2 separate regions of the Homo sapiens genome follow, and region 1 is linked to region 2. Evidence: promoter capture Hi-C in human tissues and cell types (Jung and others, 2019). All regions are on one chromosome and are shown on one strand. The core of a region is centred on a gene start or on the middle of the fragment in contact, and the rest is flanking DNA. Distances in the headings are between cores, read along the strand shown. Region 1 overlaps MAEL (maelstrom spermatogenic transposon silencer). Region 2 holds the start of ILDR2 (immunoglobulin like domain containing receptor 2).

Region 1 (5,840 bases), core at 332-2,831, 35 kb after region 2:
TTTAATTTTTCAAAACAATAGGATTTTAATTTATTAGACCTGTTTTTCTATTCTCTTCCTAATTAATTTTTGCTGTTACTCTCTTTGTATGTTGTTGTTCTTTTTCTAGTTTTGGGGGCTGGAAATGTAATTTATCTTTTGCCTGATTTTTTTGATGTGTTTAGTAGAGTGAATTTTCTCTTAATCATTGTTTTCAATGAATTTACGTAGATTATTGCATGCAATATTTTCATTGCCATTTTAAATAAATTATGTCATTTTAACTCTCAGCCACCATCTCTTTAAAACAAGGCTTTTAAATGTCCAGGTGAAAAGGACTTTCTGCATTTTGTTTCTTTTAGTAAATTCCAGTGTTTTTACATTGTGATCAGAAAGTGTTTATAATATTTTTACTTTATGGAAGTTACTGGTCTTTGGGGTTTTTTTGCTGACTTAATATATAATCAATTTTTGTGACTGTTCTCTTGGCATATGAGAATATACTTTCTTTTCAGGATATAGCATTTGAGATCCACACACATACATCATCTACATTAATTGTATTGTTTACATTTTCTTTAGGTATATTTTATCCAGTTGATATGTCTTGTGTTGACAGTAATCTCCTATTATTACTGTGTTTCTGTCTGTGTTTCATTGCATTTCCTGTAGTTGTAAGCTGGCTGCTGTGATATTTGATGCCTTAAAAGTTAAAGTTTGCTGAACCTTGATACAGTAAATTGATCAGGGGCTCATGGAAGAGTATTCCCTGTGTTCTTGCATGTTTAAAACTTTTTCTAATGGTGTACACCATATTTCCTTGAGTTTCTAGAAAATGCAACTTCATTTCATGGCTTTGTGTGTTCCTTTTGTGAAATTTGGTCAGTTAATTTTCTTGGCCTTAGTTATCTGATCTTTTTGACTGGAGTTAGTTGATCATTTTGCCTGGAGACTTTAGTCTTTTTTCATTTTTAAAGTCTAATACTGTTACTAGGCTATTTCTCTGAGTTTATATGCAGGTCCATTTTCTAAGACATTTGGTGAGCCCTTTCAATATGCAGAATCAGGTTCTATTTCTGGAGATTTTTTTTTTTTTTAGATCATAGTTTAATGTTAGTTTTGTTCCACTGTCTAATGTTTCTTCTTAAAAGGAGTCCAATATATATGTATGTTTGATCTTCTTTGCCTTTCATTTTAATCACTTTTTCTGACCCTTTTTACTTTGTTTATTCTCATGATAGTTTCTGCTTTCTTCAGTTTCTCTTATTAACTTTACAAATGAATCTGTTCAGCCTTGGGCAGTTGGTAATTTAGTTCTTTTCTGTAATGTTTTTGTCTTTTTTTTCCCCTCTCTTTCTTGAGTTAAGTAATTTCTTCATTTTTTGTTTATTTCTGTTTCTAGTTTTGAAGTTTCTCATTCAGGGTGTGTTTTTATATTCTCACATTCTTTTTGAGGATATTTAATTTAACATGGAATGGTAATTGATATACTTTGGCTCTATGTCCCCACCCAAATCTCACCTCGAATTGTAATCCCTATGACCCCCATGTGTCAAGGGTTGGACCAGGTGGAGGTAACTGGATCATGGCGGTTCCCCCATGCTGTTCTCATGAGATCTGATGGATTTAATAAGCATCTGGCATTTCCCCTGTTTGCACTCATTCCATTCTGCTGCCTTGTGAAGAAGGTGGCTGCTTCTCCTTTGCCTTTCCCATGATTATAAATTTCCTGAGGCCTCCCCACCAATGCAAATCTGTGAGTCAGTTAAACCTCTTTCCTTTATAAATTACCCAGTCTCAAATATTACTTCACAGCAGTGTGAGAACAGACTAATACAGTAATGTTAGGTTTTTCCCCTCCTTCATGTTTTTTTGGGGGGTGGGGGTATGAGAAATTATCAGCTAAAGTGTTTTGATTCTCCTTTTCTGTTTTCTTTTCTTTTCTTTTCTTTTTTTTAAAGAGAGTCTTGCTCTGTCACCCCAGCCGGAATACAGTGACACAATCATAGCTCACTGCAGCCTGGAACTCCTAGAGTCAAGCAGTCCTCATGCCTCAGTCTCCTGAGTAGCTGGTACTACAGGCATGTGCCACCATGCGTACCTAGTTATTTTTCATTTGTCGTGGAGACAGAGTCTTGCTGTGTTGCCCAGGCTGGTGTCGAACTTCTGGCCTCAAGTGATCTTCCTGCCTCAGCCTTCCAAATTGCTGGGATTACAGGTGCAAGCCATTATGCCTGGCTATTTTGTTCTTATAATAGCTTGTTTTCTTCCCATAATAGCTTTCTGTAGATGAAGATACATTGCTCCTTTGCGTTTCTTGGACAAGGCTGATAATTTAGCGGGAGGTTTGATTGAGAGTCTTTTTTCCAAGAACCTTCCTCTCTGTCAATGTGACAAAGTACAGGTTCTTTAATGAATGTTTTCAGGGTGGTGGGAGTGTGGTTGTAGGTTCTTAGAATTTTATTTCCTGCATGATCTTAAATTTCCCCCTTTGCTTTTTTTTTTCTACCTAATTTCTAAAGGGCCCTTCCCCCTTCCTCTTTCACTTAGCATGGCACTTGCCTATAGTCAGTGCTCTGATCTACTAGGACTGTTTGAATATTTACGTAAAGAATGGGCTTCCTCATTGTAAGAATGATTTTAATTTAATCTTAGGCTCTCCATTTTCTTTCTTCCTTCCCCAAGTTTTTTCTGGACTCTACTGCATATAAAGGTTGGGGTAGGAGATTGAGAAATTGCTCCATTGGAAATTACAGTTTTCATTTTTCTATTTATAGACAACTGAGTTTTGTAGTGTTCTTCTAGTTATGCTGTAGGTGTAGATTTTGTTTTCCCCACGTTTGTTGTTGTTGTTCTTGTTAATCTGTAAAGCTTATGGATGATGTGTTAAGATATTTGGATTTATGTACCATTACCTCAGTTACAGGCTGAAGTATTTCTAAAATTTCACATTGAGTCATTCATTGTCCATGTTTTTATACATTATTGTCCTCTGTGCCATTAAGAGTGTTGGCGATACAGCATTTCTTAAAAAAGAACTCCACTGTTGTCTCTGGGGTTTTCTTCTAAGCATATCCTTTCTGCAAGTTTTGATGCCAGTTCTTTCTTGATCTTTTCAGAAGAGGTCAAAAGAAAGTTTTCAGGGACAAACTAATATGTCCTCAAATAATCTTTAAATGGTTTATTGACTAAAATGTTGAAGGATTGCAAATGTCTGGTTACCATCAAGATTAATAATTAAATTTGTACATGGTTAGGCAATGGCAACTATTTCTAGACTGTCAAATAGACATTGTGCAATACCTTCAATTGTAAGATGCATTCTAATTTTGGTTAAAATGTCAAGAAAATGTGTTTTATAATTGAAGAAATACAGTGTTGAGTTCAGCAGAGTAGCTATACTCTACAACAAGACTAGAGTAGCTCTAGTTTGAGACATTATTTGAGGTCCATGCCGTGGGATTTTGTTAAAGGTAAAACTCTTACATAGTACTGTAGGCACTTTACTAAACTTCTTTGGACAGGATGGATCTACTTTTTATTGAGCTTCATAACATAATAAGATTCAAATGTATGATATTTTACAAGGGAGTTTGGATTGTAGTATACAATAGAAACTGTTAGAATCTGTTAATATAAGCAAATGAAACTTATTCCAACCACTGCTCTTAAATGCTTACTAAAAGACCTTAAAGTTTGTAATAAATTTGTGATAAATGTTTTGTCTAGTTCTAAGAGAAATGGGTAGATTTTGTATTGGTGAAATTGAGTACAGTTAGGCAAATTGAATATTAGAATCTTAAGTAAACAGTCTGTTGATAACATGCATTTTGGAGGCTAGAATATTTATAATTTTTATAGGTCCCCTAGTCTCCTGATGCTTCTTGTCATAATTCTTCTTGGACTAATTCACTGTCTATGATCAGCTGACTAAACATGGCAGCCTTTATTTAATCAACAAATATTTATTGAGCACCTCCTCTGTGCCAGAAGATGATCCAAAGGTGAGCAGAATTAATGTGGTCCCTGCCTTCAAGAAGCTAACAGTTAAGTAGGAAAGAAACATACAGTACATAATAAAGAAAATGGTAATTTTAGCTTTTGATAAGTGCTAAGAAGAAAATCAACAAGACACTCTGACAGAGAAGAATGTATAGAAAAGTAGACCACTTTATAGAATGGTCAAGAAGAATTTGAGGGTGTGACATTAGAACCGAAGTGGGAGAAAGATGCAGCCATGCAAAAAATGGTAAGAAGAGCACCCTGGACAGAGATAGAAAAGCCTTGAGGTAAAGGCTTGGTGTTTGCTAGAAATTGTTAGACAATCAGTGTGACTGGGGAGTAATGAGTGAAGAGGAGAATGCACAAGATGAGGTTGAAGCAGTTGGGGGTCATAAACCATTAGAAAAAGTTTTAAACGTGCAAGAACACAGGGAGAGATGGAAAGGAATAGGTTGATTTAAGATAGGTTAAAGTCAGTAGACCTTGCTGATGGACTGGACCCAGGGAGAGAAAACAGAAAGAAATAATGAAAGATGACACCCAGGTTTCTGGTGTATACTATTGGATAGATGAGGAGGAGAGGAGCAAGGTTACAGTGTTCTGAGGTCCTGGTGAGGCATCACATCTGGAGATAGCAGGCAAGCAACTGTCGTCCTGCTAGAGCTCAGTGAAGCGGTTTGGGTAGTGTCAGCATTCTTTTCACTATGTGCTGGGCACTGAAGATACAGTACAGGAAGACAAGTCTTCTGCCTTGATGGACCTCACAGCACGTAGATGAGATCACCTCGGCAAACAGCAGAAAGAGAAGAGGACTCGGCACAAGCCCTGACGAGCTCTGACAAGTTAAAATGTGGGCAGAGGCTTTTCAAAGTCTCAGTACCTCTCAGCCTGTAAGTGTTCCTATGTTATACAAATCATCATAGCCATCATCAGTGTCGATGAGGGTTGAAGACATGAGAAAAACTGGGATTCTGGATGTAATAATTTCATAAATCTCTGTGAAGTATTTGGTCTTCTTTACCACTCTGCAAAGTGCTCTGTCTTTCTACACAATCTTCTATATCCTGTTAGGGCTATTAGTTTGCTTTTGTTCCCTGGATTATCTCATTCTTCTGGATTGTGAGTTGTGGTCTCCCTGTTTTGTTCTTTTTCATGTTGCAGGCTTTTCTTGAATGCCTGATTATCCTTGATTGCATTCATATTTAGAAATGAGGCTACAAAGCCGAGTGTTCCATATTGTTCAGTGGGGATTGTTAACTGATGAGGCTTTCCTGTAAGGAAAGCAGACAAGAGAGATGTTTAGTTGGAGGCAAAATCCTAAATGCTAGAATATGAAAGGCTTTGCTCTAAGGTACCAGCAGCCATTCTTGCTGCCTGGTTTTCCAAGAACAGTTTACTTTTTTTCATGGGGGTTCTGGGAAGTAGACTATTCTTTTTACAGAAGTTCAGCCTCATGTCTTCTCTTTCTGCTCTGAGTAGAGACATGTTCACAAGTCCAGAGCCTCTCCAGAGTTCTGATAGGCAGACTTTCTTCTGCTGCTAGCCTCTTGAGCACTGAAGACTGTGACTTCTTTCCAGCTTCATCAGTTACCATTTATTTTATTTGCCACAGATTTGTTAAAATGTCTTCTATGGAGGCCTCTTCCTGCTTTTTTCCTTTATTGTGGACATGTACCATTTTTATTCTTTGCCTGTCATCTTCACAGCGTCTTGGGACCAAGAAGAGATAAATTTGTGCAGGTGTTTAATTCACCATCTTGAACCAGAAACCCCAGCAATAGTAGTATTAAGAGATGCAGTTTTATACTTTATCACTTTAGAATAGTTTTTCTTAGTCCATTTTAATGAGCTTTTGATAC
Region 2 (5,171 bases), core at 1,305-3,804:
CCGCCATTGTTTGCTCCTCTACTTTGCTGAGGCTGAGAGGCAGCTTGTCTGTCCACACCTCTGACAGCAGTGATGGGATGAGGAGAAAGCAGGAGCAGGGAGCAGAGGATGATCAATGGGATCCCAGGAGTCAGTCTCACTTTTGGAGCAAAGAATCCCCAGCCATCTGACAGCTGAGCTGGTCCTGATAACTAACCTGTTGCCTGATTCCAAGCAGAACAGCCTCTCCAGGTGCAGGTGGCAGAAGGCACAGACAAAGCCATCACCTCCCTCAAAACAAAAATAAAACAAAAAGCCCTCCAGCAAAAAGCCCAGAGAGGCAGCTTAGGAGAGGGCAAATGAGACTGGTCTGGAGTTTGAGAGAACTGGAATCTAGTCCCTAATCAATCATGAACGTGCTATGTGCATATTGCCTCTCTAGGACTCCATCTCTATAAACTGAGAGGGCTGAACTACAGTTCCTGTAGTACCCTCCAGTGATATGATTCCATTTCATAAAAAGCTGTGAGCCATCTAAAGAGAGCTCTATGTTTCCCTTCTTCTCTCACTCCCTGCAAACCCCCAGAGTACTTCTTTTAGGCAGACCCCAGCGTGTCTGTAAAGAGCACCTCTGACTCAGGGACCCCTCCCCCCCCCCCCCGATGCCTGGCTGACTTCAGTGCTGTTGTGATACAGGCTCAAGGACTAAGTGCCCTGAGAATATTGATAACCGAGAGTAGAGGCAGATTAAGGATGTGAAGAATCAGTGAGGGTGGGAGTGGAAGGCACTGGGAGGCCAGGGGAGCGGGGTGGCATGGATCAGCCAAACCCTGAAATTAGAGATGATTCATATCTGAATAATGTGGGAGGGATGAACTCAAAGCAGCCAAAAGAAGAGGCTAACTCTGCTGAGGATGCCTCCCCCAGCCTAAACCCAGCAGTGGGGCAACGGCAATGTTAGGGGCATTTCATTTGAAATGGGAAAAATATTTAGGCAATGAAGAATCTTATTCTGAAGCTAAGGGAAATGGGGTATTTGCCTTTTCTTGCTAAATGTATTTTACCCCCTTTACATGACTTGTTTTAGCTATTTTAAGCTTGTTCCCCTTTGCCTAGTGCCTTGATTTTGTCCAGATCTTCTGGCTGGTGATGCTAGAGGTGACAAAACTTCTCATGTGGTACTATTGTCCCTTTTCTCTCCTGCCTTCCACCCCCATCCTGTCCTCACCTTTCTGATCCCTTTTTCCATTTCTTCCATCATTCTGCCTCCACCTTGATTTGAATGGTTGCCTCTGACCCAGTCCAAGCTATCCAGACATTCCTCACCCCCATCCTACTCCCTTCAGCAGGGCTGCTTTGTGAATCTCTCAGGGCTGGCCACCCCAAGGCCCTGTATCCCTATGGGAATCGGAATCCTCATGTGGGGAAATAGGTTAAGAACAAGAGCATCTACTGACCCCAGCAGAATGGGGAGAAAGTTCACCAAAAAGGAGGGGAGGGCACAGAGGACCCAGCTAGACCAGTGACTTTGATGCTGGGGAGAAGCCCAATGCCTCTAAATCTCTCTGCAAATTATCTTTTAGGGAGCGGAGAGTGCACCTATTAGAAAGGCTCTTCTGCTTTCTAATTATCATTTGGGACCACTCCCCAAATGATACCAAGTAAGAGAGAGCCAGGCTCTAAACTCCACAACCAGTGAAGGTTCCATCCCCATCTTCTTCCCAACCTCCAGTTCCTTGCACCCTCCAGAGAGCCACAGAGAGAATGCCCTGGGTCCCCCTCCTTCTCTAGGGAAGAAATTAAGGAGACAGTCCTCTAGCCTCCACCTCCAGAAAACCAGTTCATTTAATTAATCAGCTCCCTCTGAGCTTCCTTTATTCCAGCCAGGCTTTTCACAAGACTCACAGCATTACAAACTCAGGATAAGACCGAAGGAGAACCGTTTTATGGAGGGGAAATGCATTCGAAAGAACAACCTCAGCGCCAATGAGTCAAACACCTGCATCTAGATGCGTCTCACTTGTCATTGGGCTTCTCCCCCGCCGCCCCCATCATTCTCTCTCTCTCTCTCTCACACACACACACACAAACACATACACAAACACACACGTTGCCCCCTCCCCCACTTTCCACCAGACCGCTAAGCAGCTTTAAACATGGTCAGTAAGGAGGAAAATGGGGGGGCGGGGGGCGCGGTGAGAACAGAACCACTACAGGAATATACAAAGTTATTCGTTTCTGTTGAAAAGGACTCTTACCTGTTAGCCAGAAGAGAGAAATCCACCTCAGCAAGACCCTATCCATCTTCCCCAACTTCCCAGCCGAATTACGGAGTGAGGAAAGTGGGAAATGGCTGGAACAGAAGGATCGCTGTCACCCCGCGGCAGCGGGCGGCGGCGGAGCGGCGGGCACCGGGCGTCCCTGGGCGCAGCGCCCGCCGGGCCGGCCGCGCAGGCGGGGCCGGGGGCTGGATCGCGCCGCCGGCTGAGCGCGCGCTGCCGCGGGCTTCCGGGGTCCGCGCAGCGCTCGGCGGCGCATCCGCATGCCCAGGCAGCGCGGCACGGGGCGAGCGTCTCCCCGCCGCAGAGCCCGCCGCGCGGGGGAGCTCGGCCGCCGCACCGCCTCCCGCGCCTCCGCCCCGCCGCCCGCTGCCGCGACTGCCAAAGTTTCTCGGTCACGTGCTGGCCCCCGGCGGCCCAAAGGTCAGCGTGGAGTGATTGAGGCCACGCGGAGAGAGGGGGTCTCTGGGTGGCAGGCAGCGAGAGGCGCGGGGGAGGCCGCCCCGCGGGCCGCGCCGAGCGGGGAGCGACCATCGCGGCTTCTCCCAGGGACGCCCGCGCTCGGGAACCCGGGCGAGAACGCTGGCTGGGGACTCGAGCAGGGGAGCCTGTGTCTGCGGGCAGCCACAGCCAACCTGAACGGGGAGAGAGTGACAGCGGCGAGGGTGGGGGACGGCGGGGACTTGGCGTAACTTCTTACAGGACTTAACTAGCAAGTCCTCTAGGCTAGAATGTTCGCTTCTGCGGTACCCCCGCCCCTCCGTCTGGTTTCCTTTTTGACAGTGCAAGGAACCAGGCAAGAGGCTCCGCAGAATTGAAAAAGGTAGGCGGGAATCTCGCGTCATTACTTTTTCCTGTTAAAATATGAGGTAGAATAAGGGCATCCGGCCCTTTAACAGAAAATATGTAAAACCAGAATGAGATAAATGATTATAACGGCTTAAATCCATCCAACACTTTATAGATTCCAGCACGCATTCACATGGATTATTCCTATTTGTCAGACGGATTTGTCTTGTGTCTCAAAATGTATGTGTTGAGAGAGAACTGAGAAATGTATGATTTGCTTAAGAAATATATTTATGAAGCCTCTACTAGGTGCTAAGAACTAAGGTTACAAAGTGGAATGAGATAGACTTCCTGCCCTTAGGAGCCTCATCTTGGGTCGAGGAAAGGGAGGAAGGTCAGACCATTAAAGACATGATACTTATTCCTAGTAAAACGGGGCAAGTGCAATAATGGAGACATAGAGAAAGTGCCTTGGGAACATAGAGGAAGGACTAAGTTAGTCGTGGGTGGGGAGGGGGCACCACGATAAAGGAGGGGTAACATCTGAGCTGGCATTTGCAGAAAGCACAAGATTTGAGCCATTCAAGGATCCCTGGTGGAAAGGGGGCAGGCGAGGGCATTCTGGGCAGAGGAAAGAGACATAGCAGAAAGGTCTCAAGTAGCATCTGAAAACAGAGTGGTGCCAGGCTGGAGGGGAGTTCCTGGAGCAGACAGACTCCACACCTAAGAGTGAATGTGTACACAGACAGGGAGAATATGTATGTGAACATGTGAGAAATGGGAAGAATAGACCCTGGGCAGCTGTCTTTTATGGCTGCCTGACATCTCAATTCCCTTCTTATTCTGAGAAATTCCAACTGCAGAAGCCAGAAAGTCTAGAGCCACCTCCCTGACCATCCCAGCTGGAATGCAGGCCCGGGCCCCTGGCATAGCCAGGCTGACCTCTCCCTCAGAGCTTTTTGATTCTGGAGCAAGTGGTGGATATAAGAAACAAGGACAGTGGAGAATTGATTTTGTCACTGAGGCAGCAGCAGCATCCAGTGTACATGATCAGCTGTGGCAGAGGTCAAGCCACCAGGATGCTCCAAGGTGTGATTTTTGGCTGTGGTCTTGCAGGCTCTCTGGGTTCTAGCCTCTCTTCTACACTTGGCTCTTCACTTCCCCAGCAATTCTTTGAGCCACCCAATATCCTTTCATAAACTCTTTCTTTGCTTATTTTGGCCAGGATGATTTTTTCATGCTATGTACTGCATGAGAGAAATTTGAGGACTATTTCCTTTCATATACAGAAAAATAAAAATATAGGAGGTACCTAACACTTGTGGGTTTCCTTTAGGTTCTAGGCAGAGTTCTACATGTTTAACAAACCTTCTCATTTAACCCTAAAGAGGGAACTTAGGCCCAGAGCATTTAACTAACTTCTCTAAGATCAGGCAACTAGTAAGTGGCAGAGCTAGGATTTGAATCTGACTCTAAAGCATATACTGTTTGCACCACAAAAAGAACATCTACACCAGAAGATTGAGATGATATATTTGTATTATGCTGTGCCATTTACTGCATCTATGTGTGTGTGTCACAGTGCACAAAAGAGCTTGAATAGTGTTTATTATCTAAGCACACATAACAGTGGCATTTTGGCCAGGTGCAGTGGCTCACACCTGTAATCTCAGCACTTCGGGAAGCTGAGGTGGGCGGATTGCTTGAGCTCAGGAATTTGACCAGCCTGAGTAACATGGTGAAACCCCATCTCTACAAAAAATACAAAAATTGCCAGGCGTGGTTGTACATACCTGTAGTCCCAGCTACTCTGGAGGCTAAGATGGGAGGACCACTTGAACCTGGGAGGTTGAGGCTGCAGTGAGCTGTGACCACGCTACTGGACTCCAGCCTGGGTGACAGAGTGAGACCCTGTCTCAAAAAAAATGGCATTTTATGCAAAACTTGGACATATGAGCAAGTTTATACATGTGAAAAATGGGAGATGGACTGAGTGAAGGAAGCCTGGATGTGTATATGAAGTGGAACGTGAATGCCCACAGAAATGAACTCATGTCTGCTCAGAGGAGGTGTCTGTGTAGTTGAATCAGGAGACTTGGAGAAGAGCTTGTGCCACAATGAATC

The links. The method cuts DNA at HindIII sites, captures the fragments that hold promoters and counts their contacts. A contact is called where the count stands out against the background at its distance.
Region 1: a contact is called between a fragment that was not itself captured here and the fragment with the promoter of ILDR2 in region 2, in 2 of the 25 tissues and cell types used here (neural progenitor cells and thymus).

Annotation. Positions count from the first base shown.
Region 1 is chr1:167,008,529-167,014,368 of GRCh38, forward strand. The region is part of intron 8 of MAEL (maelstrom spermatogenic transposon silencer); the gene reads left to right. Among named protein-coding and RNA genes, the nearest start is that of MAEL, 22 kb to the left of the region's middle. The HindIII fragment of the contact is 6,636 bases long and covers 1-4,899 here.
Region 2 is chr1:166,972,986-166,978,156 of GRCh38, forward strand. ILDR2 (immunoglobulin like domain containing receptor 2) reads right to left here and starts at 2,555. Exons shown (of 10, transcript NM_199351.3): 1 at 2,238-2,555. The coding sequence starts at 2,283. It also overlaps a transcript of LOC124904449 not described here and a transcript of MAEL not described here. RefSeq lists silencers at 2,405-2,454, 2,515-2,804, 2,925-2,974. The HindIII fragment of the contact is 11,019 bases long and covers 1-5,171 here.